Linked DNA regions of Homo sapiens: regions 2, 3, 4, 5, 6 and 7 are each linked to region 1. Evidence: promoter capture Hi-C in 16 types of primary human blood cells and fetal thymus (Javierre and others, 2016). All regions are on one chromosome and are shown on one strand. Each heading gives the region's core, a stretch centred on a gene start or on the middle of the fragment in contact. The rest is flanking DNA. Distances are from core to core; before and after follow the strand shown. Region 1 holds the start of AQR (aquarius intron-binding spliceosomal factor). Region 2 overlaps AVEN (apoptosis and caspase activation inhibitor). Region 3 holds the start of AVEN (apoptosis and caspase activation inhibitor). Region 4 overlaps CHRM5 (cholinergic receptor muscarinic 5). Region 5 has its middle 24 kb from the start of PGBD4. Region 6 overlaps KATNBL1 (katanin regulatory subunit B1 like 1). Region 7 overlaps KATNBL1 (katanin regulatory subunit B1 like 1).

Evidence for each region. Contacts are between HindIII fragments. The CHiCAGO score rates a contact against its expected background, and 5 or more counts as called.
Region 2: a fragment that was not itself captured here is called in contact with the fragment with the promoter of AQR in region 1 in 2 of 17 cell types (naive CD8 T cells and total CD4 T cells); the score reaches 7.1 in naive CD8 T cells.
Region 3: the fragment with the promoter of AVEN here is called in contact with the fragment with the promoter of AQR in region 1 in 9 of 17 cell types (naive CD8 T cells, non-activated CD4 T cells, total CD4 T cells and 6 more); the score reaches 10.0 in naive CD8 T cells.
Region 4: a contact is called between a fragment that was not itself captured here and the fragment with the promoter of AQR in region 1, in 4 of 17 cell types (non-activated CD4 T cells, fetal thymus, naive B cells and 1 more). The highest score is 8.8, in non-activated CD4 T cells.
Region 5: a fragment that was not itself captured here is called in contact with the fragment with the promoter of AQR in region 1 in 1 of 17 cell types (non-activated CD4 T cells); the score reaches 7.4 in non-activated CD4 T cells.
Region 6: a contact is called between a fragment that was not itself captured here and the fragment with the promoter of AQR in region 1, in 1 of 17 cell types (total CD8 T cells). The highest score is 5.3, in total CD8 T cells.
Region 7: a fragment that was not itself captured here is called in contact with the fragment with the promoter of AQR in region 1 in 7 of 17 cell types (fetal thymus, total CD8 T cells, monocytes and 4 more); the score reaches 12.0 in fetal thymus.

Annotation. Positions count from the first base shown.
Region 1 is chr15:34,967,793-34,971,930 of GRCh38, forward strand. AQR (aquarius intron-binding spliceosomal factor) reads right to left here and starts at 1,950. Exons shown (of 35, transcript NM_014691.3): 1 at 1,747-1,950. The coding sequence starts at 1,821. RefSeq lists enhancers at 11-575, 1,744-1,893, 1,944-2,053. The HindIII fragment of the contact is 5,969 bases long and covers 925-4,138 here.
Region 2 is chr15:34,019,013-34,023,150 of GRCh38, forward strand. The region is part of intron 1 of AVEN (apoptosis and caspase activation inhibitor); the gene reads right to left. The region is part of intron 1 of CHRM5 (cholinergic receptor muscarinic 5); the gene reads left to right. Among named protein-coding and RNA genes, the nearest start is that of AVEN, 18 kb to the right of the region's middle. RefSeq lists enhancers at 3,455-3,955, 3,956-4,138. The HindIII fragment of the contact is 3,153 bases long and covers 290-3,442 here.
Region 3 is chr15:34,037,444-34,041,581 of GRCh38, forward strand. AVEN (apoptosis and caspase activation inhibitor) reads right to left here and starts at 1,761. Exons shown (of 6, transcript NM_020371.3): 1 at 1,337-1,761. The coding sequence starts at 1,603. All of the region lies in intron 1 of CHRM5 (cholinergic receptor muscarinic 5), which reads left to right. RefSeq lists silencers at 734-793, 1,144-1,203, 1,294-1,503, 1,684-1,853. The HindIII fragment of the contact is 8,272 bases long and covers 1-4,138 here.
Region 4 is chr15:34,061,129-34,065,266 of GRCh38, forward strand. It overlaps CHRM5 (cholinergic receptor muscarinic 5), which reads left to right. Exons shown (of 3, transcript NM_012125.4): 3 at 1,515-4,138. The coding sequence starts at 1,590. The coding sequence ends at 3,188. It also overlaps a transcript of AVEN not described here. Among named protein-coding and RNA genes, the nearest start is that of AVEN, 24 kb to the left of the region's middle. The HindIII fragment of the contact is 4,430 bases long and covers 46-4,138 here.
Region 5 is chr15:34,123,804-34,127,941 of GRCh38, forward strand. No RefSeq gene overlaps it. Among named protein-coding and RNA genes, the nearest start is that of PGBD4, 24 kb to the left of the region's middle. The HindIII fragment of the contact is 3,958 bases long and covers 1-3,932 here.
Region 6 is chr15:34,188,773-34,192,910 of GRCh38, forward strand. The region is part of intron 1 of KATNBL1 (katanin regulatory subunit B1 like 1); the gene reads right to left. Among named protein-coding and RNA genes, the nearest start is that of KATNBL1, 19 kb to the right of the region's middle. The HindIII fragment of the contact is 542 bases long and covers 1,497-2,038 here.
Region 7 is chr15:34,204,682-34,208,819 of GRCh38, forward strand. All of the region lies in intron 1 of KATNBL1 (katanin regulatory subunit B1 like 1), which reads right to left. Among named protein-coding and RNA genes, the nearest start is that of KATNBL1, 3.3 kb to the right of the region's middle. The HindIII fragment of the contact is 1,731 bases long and covers 1,162-2,892 here.

The sequences.
Region 1 (4,138 bases), core at 700-3,199:
AGAATTCTTTAAAGATTTCTTTTTTTTTGCTTCGTTTTTAGACGGAGTTTTGCTCTTGTTGCCCAGGCTGGAGTGCAATGGTGCGATCTTGGCTCATTGCAACCTCCGCCTCCCGGGTTCAAGCAATTCTCCTGCCTCAGCCTCCCGAGTAGCTGGGATTACAGGCATGCACCACCAAGCCTGCCTACTTTTGTATTTTTAGTAGAGACAGGGTTTCTCCATGTTGGTCAGGCTGGTCTCGAACTCCCGACCTCAGGTGATCGACCTGCCACGGCCTCCCAAAGTGCTGGGATTACAGGCATGAGCCATCGCGCCCGGCTGAAGATTTTAAGGACAGCCAGCCTTAGTGTAGTCCCTGTAGTCCTAGCTACAAGGGAGGCTGAGGTGGAAGGCTCACTGGAGCCCAGCCAACATAGTGAGACCCTATCTTGAAAGAAGAAAAGGAAGGAAAGGAAGGAAGAGATTTTTTTTTTTTTTTGAGACGGAGTCTCGCACTGTTGCCCAGGCTGGAGTGCAGTGGCGCGATCTCGGCTCACTGCAAGCTCCGCCTCCCGGGTTCACGCCATTCTCCTGCCTCAGCCTCCCGAGTAGCTGGGACCAAAGGCACCTGCCACCATGCCCGGCTAATTTTTTTTCTTTTTATTTTTAGTAGAGACGGGGTTTCACCGTGTTAGCCAGGATGGTCTCGATCTCCTGACCTCGTGATCCGCCCGCCTCGGCCTCCCAAAGTGCTGGGATTACAGGCGTGAGCCCCTGCGCCCGGCCGGAAGGCAGAAATTTTAAGAAGGCAAGTGATATGATGAGATTTGCACTTGTATGAAATCACTCGGAAAGCAACATGAAGAATGGGCTAGAGCAGAGCAAGAGGAAGGACAATATAACAGATTACGATACCTTGGTCCAGGCAGAAAACAATGGCAACCAAGCTTAGGGTGACAGAGATGTAGAACACCAGATAGATTCAAAAGATATTTAGAATGTAGAAATGTAGGGACTAAGGGAAAGGGAGGATTCAAAATCACTCCCTAGGCTTCTGCCCTGGCAAATCTGTTGAGACAAGGAATAAAGAATAAAGAAGCAGGTGGGCATGATAACTTCTACATTGAACTACTTACACTCTTATGCAATTCACAAATAAATAATAAGAATGAGGAATGATGCTGACAACCACAGGACTGTGGTTCCCTATCCAAAGCCAACTGTGGCTCACAATGCAAGATAGTAAACAGATTCTAAATGAACGCTCTCAAACTACAGAATTACTCTGTTTTTAGATAGGTCTATTTGGAGGTGTCTTGTCAGTTTCTCATCGCTGCTCAAAAACTCAGGACACTCTAAGGACCAGGAAAAAGCCTACTCCTACTTGAAGAGGCAGTCCAGCATCACTCTGCTGCGAAGCCTACTTGCCAGTCTCAGATAGACTGGGGTGTTCCCTCCTCTCTGAATCCATTGCTCCTGAGACAAACTCCAACACAGCAAAACTCATACAGTAGTTTTATTTTCATGCGTCTGTCTTCCTTGGGCCATGAACTCCCCAGGGCAGGGCAGCTTCTTTCACCACGGTATGCCCAGCACCTAGCATAGTGGCCGGCACGGAGCTGATACTCAGTAAAAAGACGTGTGTGAATCAATTAACAAACGAATGCCTCCTCCGGACTCCTAAATCCTGAAAAAAAACCCCACCACCAGGCCTCGGGGCCACGACGTCCATACCCACTCACACACACCAGACTCGCCCGAGCTCACCTGGGTCACGAACTCCGCATTGATTTGGGACACCGTAGGGGCCACGATCTTCTTGGGCTGCGCAGGGGCTGCCATGGCAGCACTCTTCCCTCCACTCCAGTGGAAACTAAAGGACCGCTCTGGGCAGCGGCAACCCTGGTCCACTTCCCTTAAGTTACTGCCGGGGCGCTTAACTCCGCGCCGCACAAACGCTCCGGGCCGGATATCCTCAGCCTTCAGAGTCCCGTAGGGAACCCGTACAACAGCCCAAGCGTTCCTCGGGAAGCGGAATGGCGTGTAGCCGGAAGTTCATGCAGGCGTTGGGGCTGAGCTAGCGAGCCAAGAGCTTTGACCTCCTCTGTACACGCCCTCTAGCGGGCGGCAGAGAGAAGACACCTCGCTGGCGGGATTAGGAGGGCAAGGGAGGGACCCGGTGGATGGTGTTGGGTGGGGTTTCTCGTGGTTAGTGAAGAGTGCCGTGTGCGGTGAATGGGGATTTAGTTTTTTTTCAACCCTAAAGAAAAAACAAAACAAAACAAAAAAAACAGCCTGGGAATATGGGCTGGGTTTTAACTGCCCTTAACAGTGTTTTAGTTTAGTTTTGTTTTTTTTGAGACGGAGTTTCGCTCTTGTTGCCCAGGCTGCAATGCAATGGTGCAATCTCGGCTCACAGCAACCTCTGCCTCCCGGGTTCAAGCGATTCTCCTGCCTCAGCCTCCCGTGTTGTTGGGATTACAGGCATGCGCCACCATGCACAGCTAATTTTTGTATTTTTAGTAGACACAGGGTTTCTCCGTATTGGTCAGGCTGGTCTCGAACTCACCAACTTTAGGTAATCCGCCTGCCTCAGGGTCCCAAAGTGCAGGGATTACAGGCCTTAACAGTTTTATGGAGGTAAAAATTGACATACAATAACCCAGCCAGGCGCGGTAGTCACGCCTGTAATCCCAGCGTTTTGGGAGGCTGAAGCTGGCCGATTGCCTGAGGTCAGGAGTTTGAGACCAGCCTGGCTAACATGGTGAAAACCCATCTCTACTAAAAAACAAAATTTAGCCGGGCGTGGTGGCGCGCGCCTGTAGTTCCAGCTACTCGGATTCAGGAGAATAATCACTTGAAGCTGGGAGGCGGAGGTTGCAGTGAGCCGAGATTGCGCCATTGCACTCCAGCTTGGTGACAGAGCGAGACTAGCCTCAAAAAATAAAAATAAAATAATAATAAAAATAATTCACATACAATAACCCACACATATTTAGGTTGTAAAATTTGATGCGTTTTGACATGAACATACATTTGTGAAACTATTGCCAAAATCATAATGAGCATATCAAAGCCTCTAAAAGTTTCCTCGTGAACTTTTGCTATCTGTGCCTTTCACTGTTCCCACCCACTTTTCAGGCAACCACTGATCTGCTTTCTGTCACTATAGTTTGCTTTTCATGGAATTTTATATAAATGAAATAATACAGTGCATGCCTTCTTTCACTCAACGAAATGATTTTGAGATGGATTCATGTTGTTGCATGTATCAGTAGTTCATTCCTTTTTTATTGCTTAACATTCGTTCCATTTTACTGATATACCACAGTTTGATAAACTATTCATCTGCTGATAGACATTTGAGTTGTTCCAAGTTCTCAGTTATTACAAATAAAGCCACTATGAGCATTTGTGTATAAGTCTTCATGTGGACATATACTTCCTTTGCTCTTAAATACTTAGGAGTGAAATATTTGGGTTATACGATAGGTGTGTTTGTTTGTTTGTTGTTTGTTTGAGATGGAGTCTTGCTCTGTCGCCCGGGCTGGAGTGCAATGGCGTGATCTCGGATCACTGCAACCTCTGCCTCCTGGGATCAAGAGATTCTCCTGCCTCAGGCTCCTGAGTAGCTGGGATTACAGGCAACGCGCCATCACACCTGACTAGTTTTTGTATTTTTAGTAGAGACGGGGTTTCACCATGTTGGTCAGGCTGGTCTTGAACTCCTAAGCTCGTGATCTGCCCACTTTGACCTCCCAAAGTGCTGGGATTACAGGCATAAGCCACTGCACCCGGCAAGTATATGTTTAAGTTTTTAGAAACTGCCATCTTTCTAAAGTAGTACTATTTTACATTCACATCAGGAGCATATAATTCTAGTTTGTTCTCCACCTCGTCAACACTTAATATGGACAATTTTTTTTAAATTTTTAAGTTCAAGGGCACATGTGCAGGATGGGCAGGTTTGTTACATAGGTAAAGGTGTGTCATAGGGGTTCATTGTACAAATTATTTCATCACTCAGGTATTAAGCCCAGTATACATTAGTTATTTTTTCTGATCCTCTCCCTCCACCCACCCAACCCTCTGGAAGGCCCCAGTGTGCATTGTTCCCCTCTATGTGAATATGGACAATCTTTTAATTTTAGTCTTTATT
Region 2 (4,138 bases), core at 616-3,115, 950 kb before region 1:
ACTAGACACAGAGCGCTGATTGGTGCGTTTTTTTTACAGAGTGCTGATTGGTGCATTTTCAATCCTTTAGCTAGACACAGAGTGCTGATTGGTGCATTTACAATCCTCTAGCTAGACAGAAAAGTTCTCCAAGTCCCCACTCAACCCAGTAAGTCCAGCTGGCTTCACCGCTTACTATTGATGATCCTGACCCTGTGTAGGCCTAGGCTAATGGATGTAATTGTTTGTGTCTTCATTTTTAAGAAAAATCTTTTAAAAGTAGAAAAGTATTTTTAAAATAGAAAACAAAAGCTTATAAAGATATATTTTGGTACAGCTGTACAATGTGTTTGTTTTAAGCTAAGTGTTATTACAAGAGTCAAAAAGGTAAAAATATTTAAAAGTTTATAAAGTAAGAAAATTACAGTAAACTAGGGCTAATTATTTAAAAAAAGCATAAGTTTAGTGTAGCCTAAGTGTACAGTGTTTATAAAGTCTATAGTAGTGTACAGTAATGTCCTAGGCCTTCCTATTCACTCACCACTCACTCACTGACTCACTCAGAGCAACTTTCAGTCCTGCAAGCTCCATTCATGGAAAGCACCCCATACAGGTTTACCATTTCTCATCCTATACACAGTAATTTTACTGTACCTTTTTTATGTTTAGACACACAAATACTTACCATTGTGATATAACTGTCTACAGTATCCAGTACCGTAACATGCTGTACAGGTTTGTAGCCCAGGAGCAATATGTTATACCATACCGCCTGGGTGTACAGTAGGCTACACCATCTAGGTTTATGTAAGTACCCTCTATGGTATTGCACAATGACAAGTCACCTAACGACATGTTTCTCAGACTATATCCCCATTAAGCAATACATGACTATTTATTGTAGCAAAACTTAGAAAAATAGAATTGCAAAGTCTTAAGCAGTTCTTTTGTATGCAATTACATTTTAATGCATACAACAAGTTCAAAAGAGTCTTGATTTTTTAAACACCTTTTCCATGCCTCAAAATAGAGGTTTTAGGCTGGGCGCAGTGGTTCACACCTGTAATCCCAGCACTTTGGGAGGCCAAGGTGGGTGGATCACAAGGTCAGGAGATCGAGACCATCTTGGCTAACATGGTGAAACCCCGTCTCTACTAAAAATACAAAAAATTAGCCAGGCGTGGTGGTGGGTGCCTGTAGTCCCAGCTACTCGGGAGGCTGAGGCAGGAGAATGGCGTGAACCAGGGAGGCGGAGCTTGCAGTTAGCTGAGATCACACCACTGCACTCTAGCCTGGGTGACCGAGCGAGACTCCATCTCAAAAAAAAAAGAAAAAAAAATAGAGGTTTTAAAAGGATAGTGTTCTTTTCTGCTTTTAGAACTTTCTTACTGATGCCTTTACAAGTTGGTTGCACAATATAAATCCAAGGAGGCAAATTAGAAATTTGGTTGAAACAATACTATTTCTCTTAAAGCATGTAGATCATCTGGTTTAAGCCTCTAAGCACCTATCCTTGTTAACTAAAGGGTTAATGCCATCATCTGGCAGAACATCCCCTCTTCTCACACCACCTCACAATTCTGAAATGGATTTCAATTCTCACTGCACTTTCATTAGTACTTGCTCTGACTTACAGATGGGCAGCTGTAACTTCATAAAGCTATGTATGCCTTCATAAAAGCTCCTCATATCACATCATTCAAGCCCCTTGACTGAATTACGACCTTACTCTCCTTGTCATGAAAAGCTGTAAATGAAATTAGGCCAAATTTCGTAAGACACAAGATATAATCTCCACATAACTTTTTACTTGTTTTTATAAGAAAAGGGCCAAACTCCAGCCCTAACCAGTAAAAGCTGTTTGATTTGCCATTTTGTATTAAAAAACAAATGGACCTACCAAAATTCTCTTCCTTTTAAGCACCTACCTTATATGGAGACAGTCTATATGCACACACTGACCAAATGGTGAGGAATGAATCACTGGGCCATGCATCTGAAAAGTCTTTTTCTGCATATACACTTTACCTGACAGAAAATGATTTCATGTATGCTTCTCTAGCTTTCCAGCATCTGAAGCTCCTCTTTTGAATTTATTCTCCTTTTCAGTTCTTCCCCGATGAAGAGTCTATAAAATGCCTATCTTTTCTCATTTGTGGCCTGGGTGAATTTTTCTATGAAAAAATTGCATCTTTTTCTTTTTCTTTTTTTGGAGATGGAGTTTTGCTCTGTCGCCTCCCAAGTAGCTTAGGCTACAGGCACACACCACCCCACTCAGCTAAAAAATATTTTCTGTATCTTTTTTTTTTTTGAGACGGAGTTTCACTCTTGTTGCCCAGACTGGAGTACAATGGCGCCATCTTGGCTCACCACAACCTCTGCCTCCCGGGTTCAAGTGATTCTCCTGCCTCAGCCTCCTGAGTAGCTGGGATTTCAGGCACACACCACCATGCCCAGCTAAGTTTGTATTTTTAGTATATACGGGGTTTCTCCGTGTTGGTCAGGCTGGTCTGGAACTCCTGACCTCAGGTGAGCCACCGCGCCTGGCTTATTTTCTGTATCTTTAAGAGCACTTACACATGGCCGTGTAAGGTGGCTCATGCCTGTAATCCCAGCACTTTGGGAGGCCAAGGTGGGCAGATCATTTGAGGTCAGGAGTTTGAGACCAGCCTGGCTAAAATGGTGAAACCCCGTCTCTACTAAAAATACAAAAATTAACTGGACATGGTGGCAGGTGCCTGTAATCCCAGCTACTGGGGAGGCTGAGGCAGGAGAATCACTTGAACCCAGGAGGTGGAGGTTGCAGTGAGCCGAGGTTGCGCCACTGCACTCCAGCCTGGGTGGACAGCGCAAGACTCCATCTCAAAAATAAAAATAAAATAAAATAAAATAAGAGCACTTCCACATGGCAACATTAACATGAAAAAGAAGTGAGCACCCACAGCACTTGTGCAAGCAGCATTCTTAAAGTCCATAGAAAGCAAATGACAACTACTGCAAAATTTGTACTTAGAGAATTCAAGTGCAAATATTTTGTAGATGGAATAAGACGGCATTGTTTGCAATAAGGACAAGTACATGCATTATATTTAAAACCTACTCCTGCCACACAATGCATGACATTTGAAAGCTGTTTGGCTGGCATGCCCTTCTTTTCTAGCTGAACTGCTTTCTATTGCTCCTCAGACATCAAATGAATGGCATCATGGCCCCATGTTAGCAAAAATTCCTTCTTTCCAATCCTGACAATTTTAACCAGAATGGAGAAATAAGAAAACATTTTTCAGAGGCAGAACAATTAACAAGACAATTTTCCCCATGACAAGACAGAATACTACTATAATCTGCATCTCCCTTCTGCAGCTCTTTTCAATTGTGACCTTTAGGAAGCTCTCCCAACATTAGGGAGGAAAAAATATTTAATTAAAAGAAAGGGCAGCAAAGGCGCCTACAGAAGGGAGAAAGCTTTTACCTTGTATTAGAGAAAGGTGGATTTTCTCAAAGCTCCCCATCCATCAGAACAAAATGCAAATCCCAGGATCAGGACTACGCAGCAGGAAGGGTACACAAACTTTGAGGCTGGGCCACAGCCTGACATGCAAGCCTGAACATCTGCATGCTGGTAAAATTCCCTTGGAGTTAGAATACTAACATTATGGTTGCCTTACACCTTTTGCATAAGTATGAGATTATCTCTCTGCTTCACAGAATTTTAAAGACTCCAAGGATTCTGCCCACTGTGATTAAAAAAGGAAAGCATTCCCCCAACACACACACACTCTCCAGCTTACATTTTCCTGACCTTCTGGCTGGAAGGATGAGATTTCTCTTGGATTTTTGCTACCTCTGTACCACCACTGCAGCTCTGCTGAAAGCTTGCCTTTGGCTCAAAGCCAGATAGAAAAGAACAATGAGGCCGGGCGCGGTGGCTCACGCCTGTAATCCCAGCACTTTGGGAGGCCGAGGCGGGCGGATCACAAGGTCAGGAGTTCAAGACTAGCTTGGCCAACATGGTGAAACCCCCATCTCTACTAAAAACACAAAAATTAGCCTGGCGTGGTGGTGTGCGCCTGTAGTCCCAGCTACTCAGGAGGCTGAGGCAGAACTGCTTGAACCCAGGCAGAGGCTGCAGTGAACTGAGATCGCGCCACTGCGCTCC
Region 3 (4,138 bases), core at 511-3,010, 930 kb before region 1:
TAAAAATAAAGATTACTCTCTATATATGGATATATAAATAATATATAACATTGTAGTTAATATATAATTACATACTATTATATTACATAATTCTACATTACATATATATTATATATATATAATAGAGTTATAAGAACAAAATGTGATATATAGTGGGCACTAGGTTGGTCTTAGTTTCTGTCATTTACCTTAGTTTCTGTCAGTTTACACGAGGTAAACTGACCCTAAAAATGTTTTTATATCTCATTCAAGTTTTGCCTATTACCTATCTTAATCCTAACAAGATTTAAGTTTGTTACATTTAAATTTAAGTTTTATACTTTTTTTTCCAGCTCTGTATTGCTGTATACAACTACTCTCTTTAGGGATATCTTATCTGCTATGCCCTCAAGATATTGTAAATACTTCAGTAAGAGCAAATTTTGCCTCATGCAAAAAAGAATTTTTTAAATCAGTGTGCATAAGAATGCAGAATATAAAGATGGTCTTGTCCTACAGATGTTAAGGTAACAGAACAACTCATAAAAAGACAGTCCTCTAACTCCTTTAGCTGAGATATGGTTAGCTTTGCCCCCATATATATCATCCCCTGCTCCAATCTCCAAAAACTTCCTTCTATGAATGTGTCAATAAGACTGATGATATTGCTATTAAAACTCAGAACTTGACTGCTCATTTATAAATTGAAAATTCAAAACGACAAAGCCCAGTGCTCGCTGATTTCTACACATACAGGCATAATAAAAGAGAACTACGCTATTACAAAGAACTATGCATCTGGTCCCGCCCCCAAATACTAGAGTCCAGTCGTAGGGGTCATTCTTTCACTCAACAAACTTTTTATTATGCGCCTACTGTGTACTAGGCATTGCACAGACAGTTAACAAAACAGACCAAAAAATCCTTTCCCTCCTAATAACAGGAGCGTGCCCGTAAAGGCTGCCGAGGGACCACGTCGTGGCCGCGCCTCCGTCCCATAGTGGTACTCGTACAGACAGCCCAGCCGGCCCACGGGCCGCCGAGACTTGCAGCCCTGACACACGGCCTTGGCCTCTGGGTTCCTAACCCGGACCCTGGGGCAGGCTGGGAAGCCCTCCTACCCCCACTGTCTCGCGCCAGCCCGGCCAGGAGGCCACGAGGGCCAAGCGCATACCCAGGCGCGCCCCCGCCACCAGGCGCGCCCCCGCGCCACCATCCGCCCGTCCCGCGCAGGCGCCGGCGCCGCCGCCCGTCTGGCGCGCGCCTGGCACGCTCTCTTGCGGCTCTTGACTGGCGGCCTCGGCCCCACTTGCCCCAGTTACACGCGGTCCCAGCCCCACCAGCCGTCGCCTCTTACCGGCGCGCTGGCCCCTGCGCCCCAGCCTCCCGGCTCCCGGCGGCTGCCTCGCGGGGCGCCTCCTCCTCCTCGGCCTCCGCGAGCGCCGCGGAAGCCCCGGCCACGGCCACGGCCCCGGCGTCCGCCTCCGTCCCCGCCGCCGCCTCCGCCGCCGCCTCTGGCTACCGCCGCTGCGGCTCCGGGCCGCTCGCTGTGGCGATCTCCGCCAGGCCGGCCGCGGCCTGGCCGCCGCCCACGGCCTCCCCGAGCTCCTCGCTCCGCCTGCATCTGGCCGCCGCTGGCGGTGCTGAGCGCGCGGGAGCCGAGCTGCGGCGGAGACGCCCTGGCCCCACCGGAAGCGGGCCGCACGGAGGAGCCGCGAGCGAAAGGCGCCCGGTAGCAGCGAGGCGCGGGGTGCGGGGCTAGGGATCGAGGCCGGCCGCAGCGGAGCGGGGCGGGGCGGGGCGGCCGGCGTCCCGCAGGTGGGGCCGGAACCGGGACCGCGGGAAGGCCGGACCGCTGGGAGCTGGAAGTGGTGGGGGTCTGCAGCGGGGCGGGGGGATTCTCAAGGCATCAGAGATAGGTTGGGGGAGAGACCGTGCTAAGTGCAAGGACGAGTCATAAAATAAAATTTGTATGATGTGAACTCTCGGAAAAAAAAAGTTTAAACGTATGTATTTGCATAAGAAAAGGTCTAAACAAATACATACTAAAATGTTAGTGGTTAACTGCTGAGATTTGAAGTGAGTTAATTTTTTTTCCTCCGTTTAATCTAATTTTCAGCAACGAATGTGTATCATTTTAAAACTATACCGAAGTCAGGGTTCAGGAGGTGTGGATGTAAAGACAAGAGTTTGTGTCTGGTGAGAGGTGGACTGCAGCACGTGGGAGAGAGAACAGTGCGAAACTGGGAGATGGCTAGAAAGGGCGTCAAAGTCCTCAGCAGAATTTCTGTAGAAATGACTACTACAGCTGACATTTATTGAGCACATGAGTATTTCATTCTCATAACAGCTCTATGAGGTAGGGATGACTGTCATCCTTATTCTGCAGTGAGGTAACAGCCTTGGAAAGGTTAAAAAAAACTTGACTAAAGTGAATAACTAGGTAGTGGTGGAACTGGCATTCTAAGGCGGTCTCACTCCAGTCCCTTCTTTCAACCAAGGAGAAAACAGGAAGGGGAACAGTTGGTTACACAGATGCATGAAAGCAGTTTTTAACTTGGGACTGAAACCACCTGAAAATAATGAAAGCAAGGGCTAAAATGTCAGCCTAGCAGAATAAGTGTTTTCTTCCCCCTCAGTACTTTCTGGTTCTTTCCTATATCCATACATAGTTAATACTTTTCATTGCTTCTAATTGCCTACTCTGCATCAGGCACAGTGCTATGTCCTGAAATTAAAAACAAAAACAAAAAAAAAACCTTGCCCCTGCCCTCAAGTAGCTCACTGCCCACAAGGAAGATAATCTAGTCGTGTGAATAGATGATTACAGTACCGTGTTGCTGAGTGCAGTGAGAGATTCAAGATCAAGGTCCAAAGAAGAAAAGTTAAATTATATTTAAACGGGTTACCCAAGGCTTCATGAGAAATAGACCCCTGAGCTAAAGCCTAATGGTTGAGTAGGAGTTTGCCTGGTTGGTAAATGGGAGTAGGGGCGCCTTCCAGACAGGGGGAACTATTGAAGGATTGTCAACTCCAGAGAAACAGTCTTAAAAATAGTAACACTTGTAGAGCACTTATATGCACCAAACACTATTCTACATACTTCTCATATCACTTCATTTGGGACTAATAGCTGGCCTACGAGGTAAGCTAGTGTTGTCTCCATTTTACAGATCAGGAATCTAAAACAGATGTTAAGTAACTTCCAAGATTACACAGTTACAGGCCAGGTGTGTGGTTCGTGCCTGTAATCCCAGCATTTTGGGAGGCTGTGGCGGGTGGATTGCCTGAGACATGAGTTCAAGATCAGCCTGGGCAACATGGTGAAACCCCATTTCTACAAAAATTAGCTGGGCATGGTGGTATATGCCTATAGTCCCACTACTTGGGAGGCTAAGATAGAGAATCATTTGAGCCCAGGAGGTTGAGGCTGTAGTGAGCTGTGATTGTACATGGGCAACAGAAGGAGACTGTCTAAAAAAAAAAAAAAGATTTCAACATGAATTTTGAGGGAGATGAACATTTAGACCATAGCAGTGGGGAAGGGGCATGGAAGAATATGGTTAAATATCTACCAGCATATCACTGGTCTGGCCTCTCACCAAGTTGAAGATCCACACATTAATCTCAAACTAGACATTTGCACAAATCGGAGTTTCTCAATGTTGGCAAATTTAGGGCTGGGTAACATTTTGTGGCGGTAGCTTATCCTGTGCATTGTAGAATATTTAATAGCATCCCTGGCCTCTACCCACTAGATGCCAGAATGAACCCCTCTCCCCCTCATTAAGACAACCAAAAACATCTCCAGACATTGCCAAATGTTCCCTGAGAGGCAATCACCCTGGATGAGAACCACTAGCACAGATAGATTGGTGCAAAAGGTACGTTTTAGTATCTAAGGAGCTACCGATGTAATTTATCCAAAAATTTATCCAGCCTTAAATTTGCCAACATTGAGAAACCCTGATTTGGGCAAATGTCTGGTATGAGATTAATATGTACATCTCCAATGTAGTGAGAGACGAGACCAGTGGGAAATAGGGCTTTAAGGAACTATATAACTATCCCTTGAGAAGCCTCCAAAATTATGAGGTTGAAAAGATCAGTGGCTTGCAGATTAAGCCAGTGTTATTAGGGCACATTCACTATGCTTGAT
Region 4 (4,138 bases), core at 1,011-3,510, 910 kb before region 1:
AAATAAATGGTAGCAGTGGTTACCTCTGAAAATGGGGAGCTTGCAAGCTTGGAGGTCAGAGGTGGGAGGGAGACCTAATTTCTACAATTTACCCTTTAGTACACACTGAAATCTTTATCATGTACATAGATTTTTTAATCTACAAAGGGAAAATTTCATTTTAGTTTTGAAAGTTAAAATTTGTCAACAGAGGGTTAATTAAATATAGTACATCCATTAAGTGGAATAATGTACAGTCATTACAATGAAAGTGGTAGCTCTAGATGTACTGATAAAAAGCTGTCTGTGATAATTCATTTGTTAAGTAAAAAACAAAATTCAAATTGTAAATGGTAAAAGGCACCCATTTAAAATAATTATTAGTATATGCATAGGGGAAATTGTATTTAAATATTTATTTATTAGTATATGCATATGGGAAAATGCCAAAATATACACTAAACTGTTAGCATTGATTACCTCTGCAAGGTGGAATTAGAGGAGACTTTTGCTTTCTAAGATTTACATTTTGACATTGTTTGAGCTTTTATAAGGAATGTATTACTCTATAACCAGAAAAAAGATAACCTAAAACAATTCTATGATATTGCAAATAGTTCAGGAACAGAGAGAAGGTCCTTATCTTCAGCAGCTGGGGCAAATGTAAAACCCCCTAGATGAAAACCAGATATGCACTTGGAGTTTGTGCATTAGGGCAAGGAGAGGTGGTATAATATGGTCTTGGCTCACAACGGCACCTCAGTAATGTTTAATAATCAAGACTGGGACTATAGAATAGATACCACTTTTTCCCCAGTGCATGACGATTTAGGTATTTATCACCAGGATCTTAAAAATATAGGGTTTCAGCCCTTATGATCATTGCAATCTAAAGTGATTTAACATCCCTGCTTTCCTCTCTTTACTGCTTCTCAACAATCCATTTTTTTTCCTTTCCCTTCACCCTCCTCGTCTTCCCAGCCCTTTTTAAAATTGCCACAAGAGGGCAGCAGCCTCATGCATAAGAAGGGCACTCAGCCATAGGTAACAACAAAAAGCAAAAGGATGCCATTAAAAATAGGTGATCAAACTTTAGAGATTTCAGCATCTTGCTCTGAATATGTGTGCAGCCACGTTTAATATTCCATTAGAAACTATAAACAATGGGCCGGGCGCGGTGGCTCACGCCTGTAATCCCAGCACTTTGGGAGGCCGAGGCGGGTGGATCACGAAGTCAGGAGATCGAGACCATCCCGCCTAACACAGTGAAACCCCGTCTCTACTAAAAATACAAAAAAATAGCTGGGCGTGGTGGTGGGAGCCTGTGATCCCAGCTACTCGGGAGGCTGAGGCAGGAGAATGGCCTGAACCCGGGAGGCGGAGCTTGTAGAGAGCTGAGATCGCACCACTGCACTCCAGCCTGGGTGACAAAGCGAGATTCTGTCTCAAAAAAAAAAAAAAAAAAAACTATAAACAATGGATGGACAAGAAAATCATGCTGGTGTGCGAAGCTAATGTGTTTCCCTCTCTTCCAGATGCTGGCCAAGAAGAGCTGAAATAGAAAACAGCCTAGAACCTAACACTATTTACTGTAAAATTTTTGCACCAGGATGGAAGGGGATTCTTACCACAATGCAACCACCGTCAATGGCACCCCAGTAAATCACCAGCCTTTGGAACGCCACAGGTTGTGGGAAGTCATCACCATTGCAGCTGTGACTGCTGTGGTAAGCCTGATCACCATTGTGGGCAATGTCTTGGTCATGATCTCCTTCAAAGTCAACAGCCAGCTCAAGACAGTTAACAACTATTACCTGCTCAGCTTAGCCTGTGCAGATCTCATCATTGGAATCTTCTCCATGAACCTCTACACCACCTACATCCTCATGGGACGCTGGGCTCTCGGGAGTCTGGCTTGTGACCTTTGGCTTGCACTGGACTACGTGGCCAGCAACGCTTCTGTCATGAACCTTCTGGTGATCAGTTTTGACCGTTACTTTTCCATCACAAGACCCTTGACATATCGGGCCAAGCGTACTCCGAAAAGGGCTGGCATCATGATTGGCTTGGCCTGGCTGATCTCCTTCATCCTCTGGGCCCCAGCAATCCTCTGCTGGCAGTACTTGGTTGGGAAGCGGACAGTTCCACTGGATGAGTGCCAGATCCAGTTTCTCTCTGAGCCCACCATCACTTTTGGCACTGCCATTGCTGCCTTCTACATCCCTGTTTCTGTCATGACCATCCTCTACTGTCGAATCTACCGGGAAACAGAGAAGCGAACCAAGGACCTGGCTGACCTCCAGGGTTCTGACTCTGTGACCAAAGCTGAGAAGAGAAAGCCAGCTCATAGGGCTCTGTTCAGATCCTGCTTGCGCTGTCCTCGACCCACCCTGGCCCAGCGGGAAAGGAACCAGGCCTCCTGGTCATCCTCCCGCAGGAGCACCTCCACCACTGGGAAGCCATCCCAAGCCACTGGCCCAAGCGCCAATTGGGCCAAAGCTGAGCAGCTCACCACCTGTAGCAGCTACCCTTCCTCAGAGGATGAGGACAAGCCCGCCACTGACCCTGTCCTCCAAGTGGTCTACAAGAGTCAGGGTAAGGAAAGCCCAGGGGAAGAATTCAGTGCTGAAGAGACTGAGGAAACTTTTGTGAAAGCTGAAACTGAAAAAAGTGACTATGACACCCCAAACTACCTTCTGTCTCCAGCAGCTGCTCATAGACCCAAGAGTCAGAAATGTGTGGCCTATAAGTTCCGATTGGTGGTAAAAGCTGACGGGAACCAGGAGACCAACAATGGCTGTCACAAGGTGAAAATCATGCCCTGCCCCTTCCCAGTGGCCAAGGAACCTTCAACGAAAGGCCTCAATCCCAACCCCAGCCATCAAATGACCAAACGAAAGAGAGTGGTCCTAGTCAAAGAGAGGAAAGCAGCCCAGACACTGAGTGCCATTCTCCTGGCCTTCATCATCACATGGACCCCGTATAACATCATGGTCCTGGTTTCTACCTTCTGTGACAAGTGTGTCCCAGTCACCCTGTGGCACTTGGGCTATTGGTTGTGCTATGTCAATAGCACTGTCAACCCCATCTGCTATGCCCTCTGCAACAGAACCTTCAGGAAGACCTTTAAGATGCTGCTTCTCTGCCGATGGAAAAAGAAAAAAGTGGAAGAGAAGTTGTACTGGCAGGGGAACAGCAAGCTACCCTGAAAAGTCAACAACTCCTCTCGAAAGAACAATGACCACAGTCAACATCCTCTGAGGATGAGCAAGCTGATTCTGGTTTGTATATTTTCAAAAAGAAGACATCTCATTTTGAGTCCTTGAAGATTTTTGTAAAGGCTCAAGTTTGGTTGCCAAATGGAAGGGGCCATAGCTGCAGCAATTGCTGACATATTAAATGACTCTTGCCTATGACCAAGGCCATTTGATGCCAGGGGAGTTTGCCAATGAAGTAAAGGGATAGGCTCATGGCCCTTCACAAGAGGAAGCACACTGGGTAACAATGAACAGTGACTCAGGGAACTTATGCCCCTTCTGTAGGAAACAGCAGAGACCAGGTGGAAACCTTTTCCTGTGGAAACCTGTCATAGAATTTTGTGCAATATGTATGTGTCTATGAAGCTGTCTTGTGCCAGTGAGAACCAGCAGGAGAATGTACAACAGTGTCACTTGTTAACGAGACTGATATTCAACAGGCTTCTAAGAATATGTATCTTCATAAACTGATCACTATCTATTATGCAGCTATTATGTGGTCTATACTATACTGTGGTTTGTTTTCCTGTCCCCACATCTGAGTGAAGGTCTTGCTCTTCCCTTTCATATCCAATGTCAATTCCTTGTACTCACTGAACCCATGCTGATCTCCAGGGAACCATCCTTCCTCTCAGAATCCAGAGTCTGGAAGGACTGAAACCTGGTCATACCCAGTCCTTTCAAGGGGCCTCTTTTCTACTAATAAAGATGGATCAAGTCTCCACAGTCAGTTATTTTAGTTTTTGCCAGTGGAAATTTTTTCTTTTATCTAAACAGATATTGTGCATTCTATTTTGTGCCCATTTGAACCCATTTATTTATGCTCTGTTCTTAGGAAGACTAATTGTGTAAGAGCCCTTCACTGGCTGAAGATTTTCTCCAGGCTGTTGAATTAAGGTTCT
Region 5 (4,138 bases), core at 704-3,203, 840 kb before region 1:
TGGAAAGGGTGAAACATACAAGTGTGTATATTATACACACTACAAACAAATGTTTTATCTATTTTAAAGTAAGTAATTATATTTAGTCTCTTCCATTCTTAATGTGTTTATATCACTTACAAAAATACTTCCATATCACATAGGGAGATCATTTTACAGAAGAAAATGAATGGCATGAGATGGCCACCTGTTTCATATTCTAGGCAACACAGCAGTCACAAGCTATGGAAATCCAAGATTTAGGAGACTGGTTTTATATCCTAAGCCAAAGTTATCCCTCAAAACCAGAATGCTTTTTAAAAATAAAAATAGTCTTATGGTGATGAAGGCATATGTCTATAATACCAGACCGAAAAGTGATAATAGTAATCAGCAAGCAGAATTAACCACAGTTTTTTTAGTTATAGTGCTCTGGCCTATTACATTAAAATGAACAATTTTTCAGATAAAGAATCTTCAACTACATTTCCAGTGGAGAAATTCAATTGCCCTATCCTAGACTTATGCAACTCTGGTTCTCAAAGGTCCCTAATTTTTATCTGTAAGAACAACTTTTTATTTCCTAGATACTTTATGATTCCAAATGGGTAGGGGTAGGGGTGAGGCGAGGGCAGAAACTGTCCCAGAAGTCAGCAGTGAAGTCCCTGAACAGAGATGGACAGTGCTGATGATAGAGTCGGTCAGCTCCCTACTTTTGCCCTTCTCTTGGAGCTGGTCAGAGGCATAACCAATATGGTGAGAAAAATGGCTTTCATGCAAGATCTACTGGCAGAGATCCTGATGGGCTGCTGGAGGTCCCCTGGGTTTATAATTATCAGCACACATCTATGGAACAATGCAACTGTAAAGCGTACTGTGCTAGGTACCCATACAGAATAAGTACCTTACATTAATTCTGCGACAAAATATGCAGTCTTACAATTAATGATCCATGTGTGAGGGAGTGAATCCTAATGGCAGTAACAGAGGGTTTGCAGATATGCTCATTGACAGCATGGCAGGGTCCTGTTACAGGAGTTCTATTACGGAATGAATCTTCTCTTGATAGAAAAACAGGTGCTGGTTGGTGGCTACAGCCAAGAAGGATGAATGACTGATAGGAACAGGCACCTGGGTCTCGTCTGAATATTCTAGTTTATTTTAAACACCCAGTAGCTCTTTGTTCCTTTATTCATTTATTCAACAAATTTTTATTGAACATTTCTTATTATATTTAGGTTGCACAGAGCAGGGAGCTGGAGTTACAATGGTGAGTTAGACAAACATTGATCCTACCTAAGAGGCTACTGACAGGTAAATAAGTAAAATTTAGTATAGCCAATTATACTTATGTACCATGATGGGGGAAGAACAGGATACACTCAGAGCACAAAGAAGGGGCACCCAACACAAAAATTTGAAGAGAAGAACAAGCTAAGACTTGAAGATTCAAGAAAGAGTTATTTTCAGAGAAGGTGGGAGGATGGATGAAGGGAAAAAGGCAGAGACAGGAGTGAGTGTTCTCCGCAGAGAAAAACAGTAAGTTTGAAGGCCTGGACTGAAATTGCAGGGTATGTCCAACCAAATGGCCCAAGAGTACCCTGGCATACGGTGGAGTATGTATGTGTGTGATGTTGAGATGAGATGAGGGTAGAAAGCAAAGCCAGGAACAAGAAGAAGCTAGTGGCCAGGCACAGTGGCTCACAATGGTAATCTCAGCACTTTGGGAGGCCAAGGCAGGAAGATTGCTTGAGTCCAGGAGCTCGAGACCAGCCTGGGCAACATAACGAGACCCTGTCTCTACAAAACAAAAGAAATATTAGCTGGGCAGTCCCTGCTACTCAGGAGGCTGAGGCTGAAGGATCCCGTGAGCCCAGGAGTTCGAGCTGCAGTGAGCTATGAGCTATGATTACATCAGGGCACTCCAGCCTGGGTGACAGAGAGACCCTGCCTCTTAAAAAAAAAAAAAGTAACATACAGTAATTTCTGAAATTACTAAAACTATACAAGGTGCCAGGAAGTTCCAGTTAGGTCACTAGCAGCAGTAAGTTGATGTCATTAAATCTGAGCAGATTCTGTGTAAAGTTGAAGAGTGATGGGCTCTTCGGTTTCTATGCTAGCTATTGATGCTTCCTCCCTGTATCCTGTTAAAGCCTATCTATTCCCAACTAACTGTAAAATATAAGGAACACAGCAGTTTCGTCAATGTGAGTAAGAAAACTATTCAATTAGTAGACAACAATAAAGGAATTCTGTCCACAGAAAGCCTATAAAGTATTTGAACAAATTTGGTATTTGATATATATTGCCTGAACTACTAGCCTAAGTGCAAAGATCATGTTTTCCCAGATTCCTCCAGACTGAAGTAATCAACCCTTAACCAGCTGCAGCCAGCAAAAATAACATAAACAAAAACAACAAACACAAGCATACTCCTTCCACTCACATGCTTTATACTACTTTTTACTTAAAAAAAAAAAGTGTATCTTCCAATAGAGTCCACAAAGCCTCAAGCAGCAGGAACATGTAATGGGGTCTGTTTTGTCTGTTTTCTATGAAGGCATGATTTTACATATCAGCATTTATGTGCATAACAATCTGTCGGCAACAATACACCTGAAAATTTGATTTGGAGTTTGTAGTTTCCCAAACTTTTGTGTTGATACAGACAGAAAAAGTGAAGTAGTAGGAGATTCTAAACAGCTCAACCCAAAGAATTTCATCCTCAATATGAACAAAAGAGAGTTGCCAGAGGGCCCCTAATTATGCTTATTTCAGGTGCCTCTCCCCTTCCAAAAACATGTCATTTAAAGTATTTCAAATTATAATTACTCTTCTTGAAGAGTAAATGACAGATCCCTGGGCTTTTCATGGTGCTGTGACCCTCCTGACCTAGACTACCATCCTTCACTCCTCTGCTGGAGTAGGTCACATGGTGATGGGAACCTGGGAATCCTCAGGAAACAGGCTGGGAGAGGGCTGCCTGACTGCAGCAGGAGAATGTTCTTGTCTCAATTTTCATTCTGCCATCTCAGGGAGAGAAGCACCCTAACAGCTTAATCCTTATGTTAAAACCTCAGCAAAACAAAAAAACAAAACTAAGCACAAAAAGACTGCAGCCCCTTCTTTAGAGAGAATTCTGATGCCATTCTATTTTTTTTCTTTGTTCCTTGCTCTAATACTCAAACCAGGAAACACTAATTTGTAGCACTTTTCTGTCTCAGTGGTGCACATACACCCACCAAAACCAATTATAACTCAAACTGCAGGCTCAAACTCCTGGGCTCAAGCGATCATTCACCTCAGCCTCCCAAGTAGCTAGGGGTACAGGTGCTCACCACCAGGCCCAGCTAATTTTAATTTTTTTTTGAAGAGACAGGGTCTTGCTATGCTGCCCAGGCTGGCCTTGAACTCCTAGGCTCAAGTTATCCCAAAGTGTTGGGATTACAGGCATGAATCACCATGCCAGTCTGCCATTAAGTTTTTCTTTCAAATAGCTTTACTGAGATATAATTCACATACCATAAAATTCACTTAAGTATACAATTCACTGGCTTTTAATATATTCAGTTGTGTATCCATCACAATTTTAGAACACGTTCATTACCCCCAATTCTATCCCCCCTTAGCTGTCACTCCCCAATTTTCCCATCCGTATATCCTTAGGCAACCACTAATCTGCTGTTTTTGTCTGTACATGTTTGCCTATTTTGGACATTTCATATAAATGGAATCATACAATGTGGTCCCTTGTGACTGGCTTCTTTCACTTAGTATAGTGTTTTAAAGGTTCACCATGTTGTAGCATGTATAGTATTTCATTCTTTTCATCGACAAATAATATTCCATTGAATGAATACACATTTTATCTTTCCATTAATCACTTATGGGCATTTGGGTGTTTTTCACCTTTTGGCCATCATAAATAATTCTGGTTTGGACATTCATACACAAGCTTTTGGGTGAACAGATTTTGATTTCTCTTGGTATTCTCTTAGGTGAGTATCTAGAAGTGAAATTGCTAAATCATATGGTAACCTTGTTTAACCATTTGAGGAACTACTAGACTATGTTCCAAAGAACTACACTATTTTACATTCCCACCAGCAATGTATGAGGATTCCAGTTTCTCCACATCCTTGCCAACACTTGTTATAAT
Region 6 (4,138 bases), core at 518-3,017, 780 kb before region 1:
TTTCCAAAGTTATCAGAGGCCTGCATTCAAGAGTCCTTTTCATGAACTCCCCAAAGAAGTAAGCCCAGCATTATAACTGACTGTCAGCTGCTTTTTGGAAAGAATCAAAGCAAAACAATTAATGACAAAAATCTCAGGACAGACACAATTGACAAGGACATTTGGTTACTTTTGTGGCATACAAAAATGTAACAAAGACGTCATTACTGACATATTAATAATAATCAAGACATCAGAATTTTAGGAATTTCATACAACCTGGAACACATTTTTTTTTGAGACAGAGTCTCGCTCTGTCGCCAGGCTGGAGTGCAGTGGTGTGATCTCGGCTCACCACAACCTCTGCCTCCCGGGTTCAAGTGATTTTCCTGCCTCTGCCTCCGGTGGGATTACAGGCATGCGCCACCACGCCCAGCTAATTTTGTATTTTTAGTAGAGATGGGGTTTTGCCATGCTGGCCAGGCTGGTCTCGAAGTCCCAACCTCAGGTTATCCGCCCGCCTCAGCCTCCCAAAGTGCTGGGATTACAGGCGTGAGCCACTGCACCTGGCCCTGGAACACATATTAATACCACATCTATGTAAGTATAATCCAAAGAAAGTTAAACACCACCTCGCATTTGATAATGCCTCCTTGTATAAATCTAACATCAAATAAGTCTAATAAGTCTCTCTTGGACTTCAGGGAACCCAATATCCAAAAAAGTTTGAGGCAAAAAGACTGAACTTAGAACTTGCAATTTTGCTTTCGGAAAGTTTGTCAAATATCAAAGGTTTAAAAAACTTGATATCACAAAATATGATCATAGGTCACTATAAAATAGTCATTCATTTAACCAAAATGAAAAAACAAAAATGTTTACTCTTTGATAGAGAGGAGACAGTTTCCTAAACAAAAAGACTATAAAGACGGCACAAAGCTAACTAAATCTGTCTCTTCCCTCTCCTTTGTTCCCTGCAGTTTACTCAAAAAGTAAACAAAAATATTTTATTATCTCTTATTAATATTACACACAAATTCTGTTCAAAAGAGAAAATCAAATGTTACCTTTGTATGTTTCAGTACTGCTATTTTAGGGTTCATTTCTTAAACAATTAAAAGGAAGTGTATGTATTCAATCCAGCATGTACTGATTCAGCACTACTATGTGTCAAGAGATGAATAAGAAGTACATTCTTTTTTTTTTTTTTTGAGACAGAATCTTGCTCTGTCTCCCAGGCTGGAGTGCAGTGGCACGATCTCGGCTCACTGCAAGCTCCGCCTCCCGGGTTCATGCCATTCTTCTGCCTCAGCCTCCTGAGTAGCTGGGACTACAGGCGCCCGCCACCACACCTGGCTAATTTTTTGTATTTTTAGTAGAGACAGGGTTTCACCATGTTAGCCAGGATGGTCTCGATCTCCTGACCTCGTGATCCCCCAGCCTCGGCCTCCCAAAGTGCTGGGATTACAGGCGTGAGCCACCGCGCCCGGCCTGGAAGTACATTCTTATTTCTAAGAAGCTTACAATCTAGTGGGGACGAATAACAAGGAAGCCAATGAATATGAATAATGAGTGCTATAAAAGAGGAACAGATTACTAAACAGGTTACTAAAAACGCAGAAGCAGTTCATCTAATTTAAGAGGCAATGAAGCATCCCAGAATACACCTTGGGTCACAGTAGACACACTGGTCCCGAAGACAAACAGGAAATTGTAAACATGAAATAAAGGAAAGCTGTCTAGTTAAGCAACCACAGTAAAACTCTTGTATACTCAAAATTCAGAATCCAGAGCTTTCCACATTTCCGAATTTCCAGTTCTTCTCCAGATATGGTTCCTCAATTTGAGCATCAATAGAAAGCAAAAACAGTTAAAGAAGGTAATGGGAAACTTTACAATGGATAAATCAGGTTGACAACATCTAAGACACTAATCAATTTTAGCATCAAAAAAAGAGACAACCAGACATTATATGAATCCTGATATGATACAACAGGAAATATTAACAACACTACTAATAAATATTCTTGCCAAAAAAAATCAAACCTGAACATAATCAAGCTTCAACTGCCTGTTACCAACTACCAGTTTAATGGAAATACAGAAGACACAGGAACCTGTTAATGCGACCATGAGGATGCAATTAGAAAAATCCAGAAAACTTTCTTTGGGATAGATGACTCAGTGTTCTCAACAAACGCTTTGCAAGAAAATAAAATAAGAGGATGAGGCTACATATTAAAAGACACTTCAGGACTATATCAACTAAATGCAATGTTTGGATGTTGCTTAGATCCTAGTTTAAAAAAAACAAAACTTAAAATGTATATCCTCCCCAACCACTTGAATGTATTTCTGTCACTATAGTTTGCCTTTTCAAAAATTTCATATAAATCATAGACCATATATATATATATATATATATATATATATATATTTGGTAGGGCTTCTTTCACTTAGCATAACTAGTTTGAGAATCATCCATGCTGTTGCATGCATGTATCAATGGTCTATTCCTTTTTATTGTTAACAGACTGTTAACATAACAGTCTATTAGGTGGCTATACCACAATTTGTTTATTCACCTACTGATGGACATTTGGGTTGTTTCCATTTTTCACTATTATTAGTAAAATTACTGTAAGTCATGTAAACTTGTATGAACATATGCTTTCATTTCTCATGGGTAAATACCCAGAAGTGAAATGGCTGGGTTTTATGGTAGGTGTATGTTAAACTTTTAAAGAAAATTGCCCAACTGTTTTTACAGTGATTATACAATTTTACATTCTGATCAGCCGTGTATGAGATAGAAGAATTATTATTAATCATTGTTAATTATTTTTAGTTGAATGGTAGTGTGGTTATGTGTTTTTTTATTGTTGTTGTTGAGAGTCTTTTAGAAATCCATCCTGGCTGGGCGCAGTGGCTCACACCTGTAATCCTAACACTTTGGGAGGCCGAGGTGGGCGGATCACGAGGTCAGGAGATCAAGACCATCCTGGCTAACACGGTGAAACCCCGTTTCTATTAAAAACACAAAAAATTAGCTGGGCGTGGTGGCGGGCGCCTGTAGTCCCAGCTACTTGAGAGGCTGAGGCAGGAGAATGGAGTGAACCTGGGAGGCAGAGCTTGCAGTGAGCCGAGATTGCACCACTACACTCCAGCCTGGGCCACAGAGCACACAGTGAGACTCCATCTCAAAAAAAAAAAAAAAAAAAATCCATCCTACAGATAAAATGAGATTACATTTAGGATTTGCACAGAATAGGGAGTATCAACGAAGTAAGATATGTTGATAATTGCTGAAGCTGGGTAATTGTAAAGTTTATTATACTATCCTCTCTGCTTTTTTATATGATTAAAAATTCAGTCAGGCGCAGTGGCTCAAGCCTGTAATCCCAGCACTTTTGGAGGCCGAGGCAGGTGGATCACCAGGTCAGGAGATCGAGACCATCCCAGCTAACACGGTGAAACCCTGTCTCTACTAAAAGTACAAAAAATGAGACAGGTGTGGTGGCACGTGCCTGTAATCCCTGCTACTCAGGAGGCTGAAGCAGGAGAATTGCTTGAACCCAGGAGGCAGAGGTTGCAGTGAGCAGAGATGGCGCCACTGCACTCAAGCCTGGGCGACAGAGTGAGACTCCATCTCAAAAAAAAAAAAAAAACAAAAACAATTCCTGTAAGTTACAAGAAATAGGATACCAGACTATTTCAGTGAACAAAGCCAATTCATGGGAGACATACATATTTACGGCAATGCTCTGCAATGATACAGAGAAAATGGCATGTCTCTTGCTTTTAGGCCTAGAGGGTGGTGGTCTCTTCAATGACTGTATACGAAATCGACTTTGTTTCAGTAAGTAATGTGAAAGTCCGGGGAGGGAGAAGAGACAGAAACAAAAACAGACGTGTGTAGAAAGACTACGTGCTGTCCCTCCTTCCCACTCCATACTCCTGGATTTGGGTATAGGGAGAAGGATGCATAGAAGAAGAAAAAATCAGGAATAAATATGGAAAAAATAATCTCTCTCCTTTTAGAATATCCCCCAGCAATCACTGAATGCTTCCACAAAGGTGAACCTGGGAGCTGGGGATCAACAGTATTAAACGTTTTTACTTTATGTCCTCTTTATACCAAATTTTGCATCTCATAAGT
Region 7 (4,138 bases), core at 777-3,276, 760 kb before region 1:
TCTGCCAGACTTTCTTCAACTGGAAACATACTTTGTAGGCAAGAATAACTGCTTTTTGTTTCCTTATTTTCTATACCAACTATTCAATAATTAAGTAATTATTGAGTACAGGCCACTGTAAGGGAAAAGAATAAAAAGGTAGTTGGCTAAAATGCAGAAGTCCCTGAATGCTAGGTCAGGAATTTGGACTTTATCTTGTAGACAAAATAGACTTACTGAGAAACTTTGTATACGAATTATATGTGAAAAAACTATTCTTGACGATTATTTATATGGCAGTTGTGGAACAGGAAGGCAAAGAGGGACAGTTTTTTTTTTTTTTTTTTCCTTTAAGATGGAGTCTCGCTCTGTTGCCAGGCCGGAGTGCAGTGGTGCAATATCGGCTCACTGCAACCTCCGCCTCCCGGGTTCAAGTGACTCCCCTGCCTCAGCCTCCTGAGTAGCTGGGGCTACAGGTGTGCACCACCACACCCAACTAATTTTTTGTATTTTAGTAAAGACGGGGTTTCACTGTGTTGACCAGGATGGTCTCGATCTCTCGACCTTGTGAACCGCCCACGTAGGCCTCCCAAAGTGCTGGGATTACAGGCATGAGCCACTGTGCCTGAAGAGTGCCAGTTTTTAAATGCTATGCCATGAATCCTCCATGGATGAAAGGCCAAATTTTAATCAATATATATAATTCATTTTTGCTACAACAGTAAATGTCCTGTTATTGATTATATTAAGTGTAGCACAGGGAATGGCTAGGACATAGGTTTTTGAAAGTAAGAGTAAAATGCATACTGAAATGTCAAGCTGGCACTTAAGTATGTGGTGATGGTCAAAATCTTACTCTGTGAGTAAGAGGGGCAGCCAGGGCAGTAATCGCTTAATAGTTCTGAAAGGCGATTAAGTGAACAATAGACACTTTGCTACTGCTGGGAGGTATTTTTACATTGTAGGAATGATGGGTTGTACTCTGGTTGGTTTGCATTTTGAATTCCTTCAAGATACTCAGAGCATCTGCGCAGTACTCCAACAAATTTTATCTTTCCCCAGCAACCCATTCCTTCATTTCTTCACTCGTTCAACAAATATTAAGTACATGTTACAGACTAATTACTATTCTACGCACTAGGGAAACATCAGTGGACCAAACAAAAATCCCTGCTGTACTGAAGCTTATATTCTACTGGCCTTTAAATTCCATCCTAAGATTTCTTCCTCAATCCTATCATATAAGTAGCTTTTAAAAATGCCTTTAGGAGAAATAATCTATGATTAATCACACTAAGATGTAAAAGACTATCCAGAGGCCTCTTCCCCACAGGTCTCCCTCCTCACCAAAGAACACCCCTCAATAAGTAACTATTTTATAGATTCTCGACCTTGGAGATAATTTCAGATGAGATTAAATCACTTGCCCAAAAACCCTTAGTTACTAACAGGCTTAGCGTTGCGACTTACAGTAATAGTGCCTTTCCCACTGTAACACCAAGCTGTGCATCTTAAGAGTATGCTAGTGGGCAGAGGAGATGCTAGAATGAGCATCTCATGACTCATACATAGGTGGTAGGTTTCTGGGTGACTTGCTCAAGGCAAAAAGAATTTCAGACAGTATATAAAACTGAAGGAGAGAGAGGTAGTTACAGGAAGCAAAAAAGGGAGTCCTTTCAAAATACCTTTTCTCTCATTTCTACCCTCATTATGCTCCAAGAACAAGAATGGTAAATATAACGCAGAAGTCTCCAAAGTTAAGGGGTATTAAGCTGGTAGTGAAAAAATACTTAGATGAGCAAGAAATAGTAAACACAGCATTTGAACCTGGCAAAGAAAAGTCAAATTACGCCGGGCATGGTGGCTCACGCCTGTAATCCCAGCACTTTGGGAGGCCGAGGTGGGCGGATCACCTGGGTCAGGAGTTCAAGACCAGCCTGGCCGACATGGCGAAACCCCGTCTCAACTAAAAATACAAAAATTACCCGGGCGTGGTGGTGGGTGCTTGTAATCCCAGCTACTCAGGAGGCTGAGGCAGGAGAATAGCTTGAACCCGGGAGGTGGAGGTTGTGGTGAGTCAAGATCTTGCCACTGTACTCCAGCCTGGGAGACAAGAGCAAGACTCCGTCTCAAAAAAAAAAAAAGAAAAGAAAAGTCAAATTACACCCTTCCAATTTAAAAAGTGTATGCTCCCAGTAAAAGTACCATTTGTATTAGGTTTAAGGTGTTTAATTAAAAAACATTATATTCCTAAATACATTTTCCAGAAAGCACCAAATTAACTAACATGGATCAACAAATATAATGATTGATAAAACATCAACATAATACTGACTAGTGTAATGTTATGATGCATCTTGTTGTTACTAGACAATACTTTTTTTTTTTTTTTTCCCTGAGACAGGGTCTTGCTTTGTCACCCAGGCTGGAGTGCAGTGATATGATCATGGCTCACTGCAGCCTCCAACTTCTGGACTCAAGGAATCCTCTCACCTCAGCCTCCCAAGCAGCTGTGACTACAGGCGCATGCCACTACACCTGCCTAATTTTATTTTATTTTATTTTTGAGATGGAGTCTCACTCTGTCGCCCAGGCTGGAAGGCAGTGGTGCGATCTCGGCTCACTGCAACCTCTGCCTCCTGGGTTCAACCGATTCTCCTGCCTCAGCCTCCCAAGTAGCTGGAACTACAGGCGTGTGACACCACGCCCAGCTAATTTTTTGTATTTTAAGTAGAGACAGGGTTTCATCGTGTTAGCCAGGATGGTCTCGATCTCCTGACCTTGTGATCCACCTGCCTCAGCCTCCCAAAGTGCTAGGATTACAGGCATGACCCACTGGCCCTAATTTTAAAATGTTTTGTAGAGATGGAGTCTTGGTATGTTGCCCAGGCTGGTCTCAAACTTCTGGGCTCAAGCTTTCCTCCTACCGTTGGCCTCCCAAAGTGCTGGGATTACAGGTGTGAGCCACACCAGTTCTGTGGCTGCACTGAAGTGCAGTGGCACAATCTCGGCTCACTGTAGCCTTGACCTCTTGGGCTTAAGCGATCTTCCCACCCCAGCCTCCCAAGTAGCTGGGACTACAGACACATGCCACCATGCCTGGCAAAATATTTTAAATTTTTTGTAGAGATATGGTCTCGCTATGTTGCCTAGGCTGCTCTCGAACTCCTGGCTTCCAGAGATCCTCCTGTCTTGGCCTCCCAAAGTGTTGGGATTACCAACCCTGCCTAGCCCCACCATCCACCCTTCTGTTCAGTGCCCTACATAAATCCTGCAATTGTTAGTTTTTCGCAGAAGCTTTACCCAGTTCAGTTCTGCATTCATCCACTGTACTAACGAAGAGTGTCATATATATTTTTTGTTGTTAATCTCATAACCCAAACTAGATTAATCTCCCTAAGGTTGGTTGTCCTGGCACATTTTTTATTTTATTTTTATTATTTTTTATTTCAATAGGTTTTTGGGGAACAAGTGGTGTTTGGTTACATGAATCAGTTCTTCAGGGGTGATTTCCGAGATTCTGGTGCACCCATTACCTGAGCAGTGAACACTGTATCCAATGTGTAGTCTTCTATCCTTCATCCCCCTCCCACTCTCTTTCTACCAAGTCCCCAAAGTCCATAGTGTCATTCTTGCGGCACATTTCTTTTGTATAGCCAATTGGGTCTACCACCCTGTTGGGCATACAGGCAATCGAAAGCTTTGTAACTGATGAATGACATTTAAAAGCTCTGCTATAGATAAGTATAAACTGCTGATTTCTTACTAAGTGATTTTGCTTTTGAAATTTATTCCTTGTCAAGGAGGTATTAGTTTAAGTATAACCATTTCAAGTACAGAATAACCACTCAATAAGTTTTAGGGATGAAAACATTTAACATGTAATTTTTTATTTTAAAGTAATACATAAGTTGCTAAGACTAACACTTTCAAAACTTTCAGGAAAGGATATAAAGGAATTGAAAACATAAATTATAACACACATAAAGCTTATGAACTCCATTTATCTTAAAATAGTCAATGGATTTTTTGCTCAGGCACAAACCTTAAGTATAATCATCAAGAGCAGAAAACTTGAATGAATGGTGTGTGAATGAATGTATGTGTACACAAAAGCACACTCAGGTCTCCGAAGTTTAAGTAAATGAAATGAAAGGGC